3 separate regions of the Homo sapiens genome follow, and all the other regions are linked to region 1. The links are contacts of gene promoters, found by promoter capture Hi-C in blood cells and fetal thymus (Javierre and others, 2016). All regions are on one chromosome and are shown on one strand. Each heading gives the region's core, a stretch centred on a gene start or on the middle of the fragment in contact. The rest is flanking DNA. Distances are from core to core; before and after follow the strand shown. Region 1 overlaps NUF2 (NUF2 component of NDC80 kinetochore complex). Region 2 holds the start of TMCO1 (transmembrane and coiled-coil domains 1). Region 3 holds the start of MGST3 (microsomal glutathione S-transferase 3).

Region 1 (3,937 bases), core at 380-2,879:
TTGTATCCCAGCACTTTGGGAGGTTGAGGTGGGAGGATCACTTGAGCCCAGAAGTTCAAGACCAGACTGGGCAACATAGTGAGACCCTATCTCCACACACACACAAATTAACAGGGCGTGGTAGTGTGTGCCTGCTGTCGTCCTGGCTACTTGAGAGGCTGAGGCAGGAGGATAGCTTGAGCCTGGGAGGTCGAGGCTGCAGTGAGCTGTGATTGTGCCACACTGCACTCCAGCCTGGATGACAAACTGAGACCCTGCCTCAAAGAAAAAAAAATAGACAAAACGTCCTAGCTCTAAAAGGAAAGCTTGCAATCATGAAATTTAATAGTAGAAAGTACAAATCCTTGCTTAAGTTTCAAATAATCAATTTATACAACAAGAACACAAGTGACACAGCAGATGGTGACCAAAAAAAAAGAGAGGGAAAGGGGGAAAAAAAGAACAGGGAGAAGCCGCCTTGATGCAAGACGGTCATGATGAAGTTCTTGGAGTTTCAGTTGATCAGTAAGTGCTACAGCAGAGGCCATTATACTGTGCCCTAGACCAACCATATCTGGAGTGTCGTGTTCAGTTTGGGCACTACATTTTAAGAAGACATTTACAAAATAGTGTGTGTTAGAGGAAGATGAATAAGATGGTAGTTTCTAAAACAATGTCATATAAGGAGTATTTTGAAGTTACATATAGCCATACATAAAGAAATTATACTTACTTTAAAGAAGGGAGGGCTTAGCAGAGGTGTAATAGCTTTCTTCATGTTTTTGAAAATGGTGTCATGTAAACAGAGATTAATATATTCTATTTAGTTGCAGTGACTACATAGGACCAGGAGGTAAAATTACCACAAAACATATTTCCACACACTATGAGGAAGAGTTATTTAATTTGGAACCATAATAAAGTGGGAAAAAGTTGCATTGAGAGTGAATTCTGTGATGTTGTCACATGTTCAAGTTGAATTGGGAAGTTATTTGTTAGTGGTTGTTTAGAATTGCTTCCATTTATTAGAGGTTAGGCAAGTTGCCAAAGCTCCCCTTTTTAACCCTAAAATTCTAAAAAAATTAGGAGCCTAAAGAAATAGATTGTCAGAATTGTGGCCCATTTCAATTTGTTTGCAAAATTGAATATATTCACATTGGGTCTCCGAGATCATTTTGCTTCACTGGAGAGTAGGGGATCTGAAGGTAACACAACAGGTATTTAAGGGAGTGGCTGAGAGCAATAACAGTGGCTGCTATTGCTGCTCATTTCTCTCTTGCTGTTACTACTGCTATTTTTGTGGTTACAGGGAGAGATATGAAGAAAATGAAAAGATCCTTACTTACCGGAATCTCACAATGTGGTGTCAGAGTTCTTTAAACATAATTCCAGTACATTGTAACAAGTATTATAACAGGGGTAAATGCAAGGCTCTAGGACAAGGTTTCTTTTCTTTTCTTTCTTTTTTTTTTTTTTTTTTGACACAGGGTCTCTGTCACCCAGGCTGGAGTGCAGTGGTGCGATCTCAGTTCATTGCAACTTCTGCTTCCCAGGCTCAAGTGATCCTCCCACCTCAGCCTCCCAAGTGGCTGGGACTACAGGCATAGGCCACCATGCCTGGCTAATTTTTATGTGTTTTGTAGAGATAGGGTTTCATCATGTTGCCCAGGCTGGTCTTAAACTCCTGGGCTCAAGCGATCCACATGCTTTGGCCTCCCAAAGTGCTGAGATTACAGGTACAGGGTTTTTTAACATCAGCATTTATTGACCTTTTGAACTGGATAATTCTTTGCTGTTGGGGGCCACCCTATACATCGTAAGATGTTTGGCAGCATCCCTGGTCTTTATCCACTAGATTCTAGTTGCACCCACACTCCTGTGCTGACAATCAAAAATGTCTTCAGCCATTGCCAGATGTGCCCTTGGTGATAAAGTTAGAGAACTACTACGCTAGGGGGACACAGGTAGGAATAACTCACTACGTGAAGACATTAGGAGAAATGGTTTTTTGTTTTCTTAAAATTCTCACTCTGGTGATAGGATTTCCTATCAATTATATCATCTATTCTTACTCAGTTTTTTTTCTCTCTTCTATTTGCATCTACAACCTTATTAGCCATCTCACTATATATGTAATGAATAGGATGTCAAAACTGAATACAATTTTTTATGCCCTATATTACTGTTGTTTATATATAGCTTCTGCTGATGATGTTGCCTATATGCCTTGCTTTGAGAATTAATTATTAGGATTGGTCTTGTTAAGCTCCGTGGCCCTCAAATGTAAAAGAGAAGCACGTGGTTTCTCATCTATCTATTCAACCAAAGTCCTCCTTCCCAAATGTGTTGTTCTCTTCCTACAAAAGAGAACGACACTAGAAAATTAGCAGAAAATAACTGTGTCACCTTAGAATAAAAGTAATTTTAGGATACATATATAAATACTTGTATTTATCTTACTAAGATATTTGATGATAGTTAACACTACTATGAATAGTTCAACTTTGGCTCATTTTGTCATTATGTTTATTAGTTTCCAGATAATGAGAACTACTGATCATGTGGTATTTCTCATTGTTTTTTCTTCCTTCAGATTAACAGGAAACTTCCAAGATGGAAACTTTGTCTTTCCCCAGATATAATGTAGCTGAGATTGTGATTCATATTCGCAATAAGATCTTAACAGGAGCTGATGGTAAAAACCTCACCAAGAATGATCTTTATCCAAATCCAAAGGTAAAAGGTGGTTACGTTTGCATGTGGATAATGGTATTTAGGGAAAAAGTAAGCTACTAGGTCTATTGTGTGGCAAGAAAGGGATATGGCCTCCTATTTGATGGAGACCAGTCATTTTCATTGAGAGAGAATCTCTCACCTAGCATAATTTAAAAATAACACTAAGTTTATATGTGTGGTGACTTCTACATTCCCATTAGGATTCAATTCTTTAATATAGTCGTTTTCTTAAAAAAAAAAAAGCTTCTAAACCATATTAAAGTATATTAAATTTTTTATTATTATTATTGGAATGGTGGTCTGAGAGTATCATTTATTGATAGGGCTTCAAGGAACTTATTCCAAGTGGTTTTCAACCACAAAAAATGCTTAGAAATAATCCTCTTTGGAAGCCTACAGATTAATTTTCATGCATTATGCCCCAGGGGGAATTGACTTGTTTTGACAGGTATTGTTTTTTATATCTTTAGTTATTAAATACAAAATGAACTATTTATGTGTCACAGAAAATCCCAAAGTCTCCTTCCAGTTTCTTGTGTTGGACTTGAAGTGATAACGTAGTAAAACCTGGTGTAATGGTGTAGAACTCAAACTTTCTGATGTCACTACCCTCTTTGATTCTCGAAAATGGAAGAAATACCTTAGAATAACTGATGTCTTCAAACTGAGTAAATTCAGCTTTCTTAAAAGATTACCACGTTTTCCCTATATTTCCCGTCTTAATGCTCACCCAATAAACTTGTATTAATATATGGATCAGAACAGATTCACAGGTCAGCATTTAGGAACTGCTGTTTTAGAAGATCCGGTTTTTAAAATTCTATATAACCCTATTACATTTATACCTCCTGATCAAGTGTTCCCTTAAACTTCAAATCTAAGGAAACCTTAATATCTATGGCAGCAAACAAGGTTTCCTGTGTTCACACACACACACACACACACACACACACACACACACACACACATTTTCCATGTGCCATTATTTCTGCCACATGCCTGACAGCCTGTTCTGAAAGATTAACTCTTCTTCTTCTATTTCCTAAGGTGGATGGGTTGCTTGGATTGGATTTGGGTATACTTGCTCTCATTCTTAAACAGCTGATCCCATTGACCACTTATATATGAGCAAACTAAGCATCATAAGGTGTTTTAAAATTTGGAAAAATTAAGGAATATTTCAAGGGAAATGGAATAATTTTGTTGCCTTTTTCTTCTTTGC
Region 2 (3,937 bases), core at 670-3,169, 2.4 Mb after region 1:
GTAAAGATAACGAGTTTGGCCCAGATATGCTGAGGTACATAATCAACACTGAGTAAATTAAGGAACAGTAAGCTGTAATTTTAAAAGCCTGAGTCTGGTCTCTAATTCTTTGTTTGCTCTGTGACGTAAGTTGTCATTATCATCCTGAGGCTCAATTTTCTTTCCTATGACATGGAGGTAATATTTATACGAGTAACCACAAATGGTTGCTGTGTAGATCAAATATGGTAATTTAAGAAAAAAAACTTCAAACCCCTATGAAGATATAAGAAAAAGTCACAGAATACAGAAAGTTGTAGGAATTCTAAGAAACAAAAGTTATATTTAATCCTTATAAGGAAAAAAAGAAGAGAGAAAACTAAATCAGGCCTATAAGGAACCATTCACCCTGTACCTTTAGCTGAGTCCTGTGGAATTCCTGCTTTATTTCAAAGGTAACAAACCCTTCTTGTTTTTAATCTTTTCCTTAAACACCTCTTCAACTTTCTAACCCAACTGAAACTCGGCTTATCTCTGAAGACACCACTTACCTTGACACCAGTCATAATGACATATCATCCTCCAAACATGCCTTAAATGTTAAGATTTCCATATTTTTGCTCATATGTTATTTCTTTACCTGGAATTTCCTTTCCCCATTTCATTCTCTATCCAAATTCTAACTATCCACAAGGAACTGCAAGGCCATCAGCATCATGAAGGCTACCATGGTTCCTCACAACTGAATGAAGCCTCTTCTTCTTTTTTTTTTAAAGACAAGTCTCACTATTGCCCAGGAGGCAGTGTAGTGACACCATCGTGGCCCACTGTAGCCTCAATCTCCTGGGCTCAAGGGATCCTCATGCCTCAGTCTCCCAAATAGCTGGGACTATAGGTGTGTACCACCATACCCAGCTAATTTTTTCTGTAGGGACGAGGTCTCCCTATGTTGCCCAGGCTGGTGTCAAACCCCTAAGTTCAGTCCTGCCTCAGCCTTCCAAAGTGCTGGGATTAACAGGAGTAAGCCACTGCGCCAGATTGAACCTCTTCTTTAGAACCACCACAGCACATAACATGTATCTGCTACGCCCCTCACTTCCCTCTAGTTGGTATTACACATTTTGCATAAAAGTCTTCTATTTCTAAATAGGCTTCAAGTCAGGTTCATCTTTGTATCAGCTGGTGCTCTTAAAATATTTATTGTGAACATGGACTTAATGAGCTTGACGTGTTGAAATTATTTCTAATGTGTTGCCATACTCACATTTTTTACTCTGTTTTTCCACTTCTGCCTTCAGTCTCTTGTACTTGTCTGTCCTGTAAACCAGGACCCAGGTTATGCCTAAAACATTAAAAGCAACATGTTAATAGAGAAATGACTGGAATGATCACAACAAACAAAGTGGTTACTGTTGGAGAAGGAGGAATTCCAACTTTTCGCTTTGTATTTACCCATAGTTAACTTTTTTCAAAGGCTAATACAACTGACTCTTCAGCCAAAACAACAGTAACATGATGTGAAGGTGTCTCCACAAATACCCAAGTGAAATCTACCTGAGACCAAAGAAAACTCGGCAATCGACTCCATACTCCCCTCCTGCTCCTGTTCACGAGTTGCCCAGAGATTCCCTGAAGTGGAGTAGATGAGCCTCTCAAGCAAGTAAGGCTCGCGATCTTTCCCCTGGTGGCACAGGGGACCCCGGGGCCCTTCCTCCCGGGGACTGATCAAACGTCTGAGAAATACCCGCTCTCACCCTCTGCGAGCAGAGCCGTGCACACAGAGATAAAAACGATGAGGAGAGTGTCCGCGAACATAGTGCTCATCTCGCACCTTCGTCTCTGCACTCTCACCCGCCAGGGGGAAAGCGCTCTACAGCCAGGAAAAGTGAAGCGAAAACGGCTTCCGTAGACTCCGCCACCACCGAGTAACAGACCAACTCTGACAGCCCGAAGATCGCACTTCCGCTTCCGGGGCATAGCACCGGAAAGGCTCGTATCGGAGAACGGTGTGGCCACGAGAGTCTAGAGGAAACCAACCCGCAACTCACTGGAGCTGAAGGGCTGGTAGTCAGGCCGAATCTCGCGAGAATTGGAACTATTTCAGAGCCAGAGGAGGATAGTGGCGGCGGCGAACTTTGCCCGGTAGATTTTACTGACTGGGGTGCTGGCGCGCGCCTTTTTCTCGGCCAGAATCCAGTTATTGGGATAGTCTTGACTTCTACCTCAGCCCAACTTCTGTGGTCGTAATATTAGTTTAGCTTGGGTTTGCCGTGAAGTAAGAAGACTGACTTCCGCAAAGGTACTGAACGACTGGGTGTAGGTGCCAGGGCATGGACGTGAAGCTGGAACCGCGAAATGAGTTAGTTGTGGGCCGCTGGCCTCAAGGAGCGAACGTCAGCGCGAAGAGGAGAAGCTTGTGCATACGCTCTGATAAGGGTTTTAATAGAGGTATTACCACAGTGCTGCGTGACACGGTTGAGAGAGTGGTCAGAAGAAGCTAATGAAAGGAATTGAAGCAGTGCCTTAGGGGAGTAGGAGTACTTTTGGAGATAGCAAAGGACTTTCTAGGCAAAGTGGAAGTCAAAGCACGGATGCCTGAAAATTCATAGTGTGATAGTGCAGTGAGTAATGTATCTAGAGAAGGGGTCTTAAACCCAGATGCCTAGACTGGCGAGAGAAAATAAATTATCTTATGCAAGCTGAGCCTAAACAAATGGTGGAAGTTACTACGATGGATAAGTGAGCATTAAGTTCATCTGAAAGGAGAATTTGATACCCAAATCCAACCCATTTCTCTAGGAGAATGAGCACCCAGTTTCTGAGATGTCTTCGTTTCTCAGGAAAATCCAGAAATCCTGGGTTTTATGTGAAACTTAATTTATAAGTGTTGCTAACTAATTAAAATTCAAAAATGTCTCAGCAGCGTGGTTTCAGCCATTGTAGACGGTTTCAGCTTTTTCACACTGGGGTGTGTGTGTGTATGGGTGAAAACCTGGAAGCTGGCTGAGCTGTATCCTCTTGTACTTCCTCCTATCATTGGTGTTTTTTTGTTTGTTTGAGATGGAGTTTCACTCTTGTTGCCCAGGTGGAGTGCAATGGCACAATCTCGGCTCACTGCAACCTCTGCCTCCGGGTTCAAGCCATTCTCCTGCCTCAGCCTCCCAAGTAGCTGGGACTACAGGTGCCCGTCCCCACGCCCAGCTAATTTTTTGTATTTTTAGTAGAGACGGGGTTTTGCCATGTTGGCCAGGCTGGTCTTGAACTCCTGACCTCAGATCCACCCACTTCGGCCTCCCAAAGTGCTGGGAATACAGGCGTGAGCCACCGTGGCCGGCCCTCATTGGTTCTTTTAAACTGTACTGCACTTAAATATATAATTCTCCTAAACACTACTTTTGACTTTTTTTTAGCTTTATGTGCATTTCTTGTCTCCCAGACTTAGCAACAGAGACCCTGTCTCCTTTTTAAGAAACATTATTGAGCTTCTACTATATGTCAAGAACTGTGGTAGGCACTGTAGGGTCAAAAGGATGGTTAAGAGAATATTCCTGACTTCTAAGGGCCCAGGGAGATTATATAATATAATAAGATTATAGGTATTATAGAGGTATTCTTAAAATGTTGAGGGGGTACAGATGAAAACAAGATGTATTCTTCCTGGGGAGTTGGAAAGGTTTCAGAAAGATCATATTTGAGCTAGACCTTTATTTGAGCAGTTCAGACAAGGATAGGTTTTTATTCACCTTTGTATCACCCAAGGTAAGTGCTGAGATAACAATAAGAGCATGATCTTGGAAATCAGACCTGATTTTAAATTCTTGCTCTGCCACTTACTTGACAGCAGTCCTAGAACCTATTGTTTAGCATCTTTGAGCCTTCAAAATGGTGGTAACATCAGCTATGAAGACTGGATGAGGAAAAGTATATTATAAAGCATTTCAAGCAGTGCTTGGCACAC
Region 3 (3,937 bases), core at 869-3,368, 2.3 Mb after region 1:
TATTCCCCTTTAGAGAGATGGAAGAAAATGATATCCAATATCCAGTGTGGGAGAGGACTGTAACTCTCTTCCTGGAGTGCATCTTATTGACAGAGATCAAAACCTAGAAATTCCTCTGCAAAGGAATTCAGTGAAAAAAAGAAATCATAAGCACGTACACAGATTTATCTACAAGATTGTACACTGCAATAGGAAAGAAGTGAAAGCAAGCTAACTCCAGCAAGAGGATTGGTACATCCATGCTATGAAAAGACATGCACTGATTGCCAAATAATGTTGCAGCATGAACCGTTCAAGAAATGAAAAGCGTCCTACATGAAAAAAATACACTGAGTGCATGACAGGAGTTTTCTAGTCCACAACATACTTAGGTTCCCAGTTGCAAATCAATAAAGTGACACTCTGGTTTATGTATCAAAAGAAAAGAAAAAGAAATGAAAAGCAAAAAAAGGGTTTACATTTTATGAAGTGAACAGAGCAGACCACAAAACAGAATATACAGTATGATTCTATTGTGTGTGTATGTAATTTTTTTGTGGGCTTTTCTGTATCTCCGAAAATTCTAATATAAAGGAATACTGCTTTTGTAATAAGATTTTTAAAAGAAGGTCCTCAGTGGTTAAGTACTTGTCTGTGGTCAGAGATAACTGGCAAAGAAGAGGCCAAATTTTTTTTGAGACTGCAGTCTCCGGTGTAAAATGAGGGTGCAAGGTGCATCCCCGCTCCTGATTTTTGAATCATCCCTTCCACCACCTTGGAATGACTTCTTACGTAGAACAGCCAGCAAGTGGAGAAACTTGCCTCAATAATGCAAAACTGTCTCCCTAACTTACTTCCTTTCAATGTTCAAGCAAAACAAAGCCCTCTCTACATCCAACATGACAGAAACCCAACATGACAGAAAGTATGAGAATGGTTGGAAATTGCTGAAACAGCAACAGTAAAGATTTAATGAGCTCTCAAAGTACCTCTAGATGTGCAAATATGACAACCCAATAAAAAGAAACACACACATAACCTAGAGCCTTCAAAAATCTAGATTTCTGCCTTTCCACACCTTAACTTGGAATCATTCAGGTGGGTTCCTAAGCATTCTCTCGGAGGTGAGGAATCCTCCAAAGAGGAGACTCTAGGAGGGGCCCAGGTGTGGCAATCTTCAAAAGGATGAGGGATGTCCAGAGGAGAGGTGGCGGGAGGGTGCACTTAAAACACGCGAAAATTGGAAACGTGCCTTCTGCAGTCAGTTCCTTCGGATTTTCCGGCATTTAGAAGCCAGTTCTACTCCTTCAGCCCGACCGTATCTGCAGGTCTCACCCAAGACCAAGACCCCCGCCCCCACCCCTCCTCCACCCGGCCTCGAGCCCCGCCCCGGACGCTGGACCCGAGCGTAACGGGAGCAGGTGTTCACATCAAAGGTCTGGGTCGCGAAGGCAGAGACTCCATGTGCCGCAAAAAAAACTCCACGGACAATTGGGAGACTCCTTTCAAAAAAACAAAACTCCGGAGCCACGCGACTCCGCGCTCAGGGGGCGTGGGTACGGCCCACCACGAGGGCAGGGCTCGGCGCCAGCTCTCGGCAAAACTAACAATATTTGTTAGGCCCTAAACAAAAAGGCCCTAACAGCGATAAATCCATTCACTTCGGGAGTGTAGCAACCTGGGACACCAAGCGCCGCCCACGCCCCAGCTACGCGCCTCAGGGACACATCGATTGAGGCGCGGCTACTTTCGCGCACGCGCCTTGCATGCCCGTGCTTCGCCCTTACAGCAGAGCGCCTAAAACCGCTACGGTGGCTCTGCTGGGGACAAATTATTCACGTCCCACTGTTCTGCAAACCCAATCCGGGAGGTATGACCTGGCTGGGACAGTTTAGGAAGATGGCCACGAAGGCACCTGGGGGAGTAGATATATGTTTTTGAGAATGAGAGGAGTAAATCGCTGGACGACCATGAGCAGGAAGAAAATTAGGCCTCCACCTCCCAACCAGTGGCCCTGAGTTGGCAACTTAGACAGCGCGCGCCAGCGCCAGGAGCCCCGCCTTGGGGGCGTGGCCGCGCGCTGGTCGGCTGGGGCGGGGCCTGCTTCTGGCCTCATCTAGCCCCGCCCCAGGCGAGGGCGCCGCACCCACACCGCGCTGCGCAGTTTTGTTCTGCTCCAGCTGTTCGAAGGTGATCCAGGTGAGTGCTAGCACCTGCGGGCAGCCACGAGCACCGGGCCGCCGGGGGCACTTCAGCCTTTGCGCAGGGCACTCCCATATTTCAGCCTATGCGAGCTGAATAGAGACCCGCTGTCTCTAACCTCCCCCCACCCTTATCAGTAAATTAGCGATCTGAATTTCCACCCTCTCTGCTCTCCCCTTGCCTTGCATCTTTTCCCTGGTGGAGTGGGTTGGGAGCGTCTAAGCGAGGCCCGACCTATTTATGTGTAACTCAGGAAAATTCTCAAGGTCAACCCTTCCTCCATTCCTTCCTTTCCTCTCCTGCTGTCCCCGGGCTCTGCAGTCTGGGGGCACCTTTCTGCCTTCCGGAGACCACCCGACCTTGCCCTCTGCTGTTCCGGCGCAGAGGATGGCGAGCCGGACACTGCCGGGGGAGTGGTTGTGCAGGCCTGATCAGTAACACTGGTTTCAGAAGTGGCCTGTGAGCAATGCACCCGCTGCGGTGGGGATGTGTTGCTAGGGACGGTCGGGAGAGCCTCTGAAGGAATTGTGTTTGTTTTCCTCCTGCCTCTTAGAATCGTTTGTCCATTTGTACTGGGAAGGTGGTCATTTCCTACCGCTGACTTAGAGCAAGAGACGCCTCTAGGCGGGTGGGGGACTCTTCAGGTTCTTCCTTGGATTTCAGAAAATGCCCCTTCTTTATGTGGGGTGGCAGCACGGAGCCGTAGGGCTACAGTAGTGGGGCAGTTGCAGGGCGGTGGAAGGCGCTGGAGACTCCTTAGTGAGTCATTCCCCGAAGTTGTGGCTTCTGCTGATACTTTCCTTGAGAGTCACGAGTTTACAAGCTACATAATAGCGTCGGGGGCAAGTAAGTGTGGAAGACGAGGTAAAGGAAAAGCAGATACTAGGATGGGTAGAAGGAGAGGCAGGGGTTAGAACTTTAATTCCTTCCCTGGGGACAGGAGATGCCCTGGAGGGGAAGGCGCTTCCGGCTCTGCAGGTATGTGCTGTTGGGCCTAGGTGTGGTCCTGCGGAATTGCTGCAGATTTTAGATTGCTGGTGGGTAGGAGCTGCAGCGCTTCTCTTGGGAAATCTGTAGATCACCTGGAGCCAGCAGTTCTGGGAGGCACCCCAGGTTATTGGTCAGAGTTACAGGCTATATTTTATTTCAGTGAATTCAGAGAGCACATTGAGTCAGATCAAGAATGTTTATTCTCATAGGAGATGAATTTAAGGAGTTAAAACTAACATATAAAATAGAAACAAATACTTTCATCCCTGGGAAGACTTTCCGTTAAGCTTCCCTCCTGACACAATGTTACGGAAATAGAAAACTTTGTCAAGTGATTTTTTTTAACCAATGTTACTATATATAAATCTGCAGGGAGACTGTCGCCAACTATAGAAACTGCGCTACAGGGGCCTCCTTAGATTAAGGAACAAAACTGGAGAAGGGCAGCCTTCCGCTTTATTTAGATTTCTTCCTGTTGGCTTAGAGTTCTGAAAAGACACAATCCTGGAAGAGATCCTCCTCGCCTGGAGATTAGCACCGAGAAGGAACATACAGGAAAGAAGGGCTTTACCCACTATTCAGAGAAATGCTAAAAAGCCCCTGGAGCAGTCTGGAATGAGGTGGATGTCAAATCAATCTGTCAAAAGCAATTCAGTGCCTACTGCACATCTATCTGTATTTAAACATATTGTGCCCTATGTTTATACTTAAATCTTCTGAATCTATATTTAGAACACCATTACCGACCACAATTGACCATGAACCA

Evidence for each region. The method cuts DNA at HindIII sites, captures the fragments that hold promoters and counts their contacts. A CHiCAGO score of 5 or more calls a contact.
Region 2: a contact is called between the fragment with the promoter of TMCO1 here and a fragment that was not itself captured in region 1, in 1 of 17 cell types (fetal thymus). The highest score is 5.1, in fetal thymus.
Region 3: the fragment with the promoter of MGST3 here is called in contact with a fragment that was not itself captured in region 1 in 1 of 17 cell types (non-activated CD4 T cells); the score reaches 6.8 in non-activated CD4 T cells.

The regions. Positions count from the first base shown.
Region 1 is chr1:163,323,460-163,327,396 of GRCh38, forward strand. NUF2 (NUF2 component of NDC80 kinetochore complex) reads left to right here. Exons shown (of 14, transcript NM_145697.3): 2 at 2,573-2,715. The coding sequence starts at 2,593. Among named protein-coding and RNA genes, the nearest start is that of NUF2, 3.5 kb to the left of the region's middle. The HindIII fragment of the contact is 2,653 bases long and covers 304-2,956 here.
Region 2 is chr1:165,766,949-165,770,885 of GRCh38, forward strand. It overlaps TMCO1 (transmembrane and coiled-coil domains 1), which reads right to left and starts at 1,920. Exons shown (of 7, transcript NM_019026.6): 1 at 1,734-1,920; 2 at 1,244-1,321. The coding sequence starts at 1,803. TMCO1-AS1 (TMCO1 antisense RNA 1) reads left to right here and starts at 1,981. Exons shown (of 3, transcript NR_125374.1): 1 at 1,981-2,427. RefSeq lists enhancers at 1,531-2,207, 2,208-2,883. The HindIII fragment of the contact is 3,297 bases long and covers 1-2,390 here.
Region 3 is chr1:165,629,116-165,633,052 of GRCh38, forward strand. MGST3 (microsomal glutathione S-transferase 3) reads left to right here and starts at 2,119. Exons shown (of 6, transcript NM_004528.4): 1 at 2,119-2,178. RefSeq lists enhancers at 1,040-1,570, 2,624-2,793 and a silencer at 1,954-2,193. The HindIII fragment of the contact is 6,286 bases long and covers 1-3,456 here.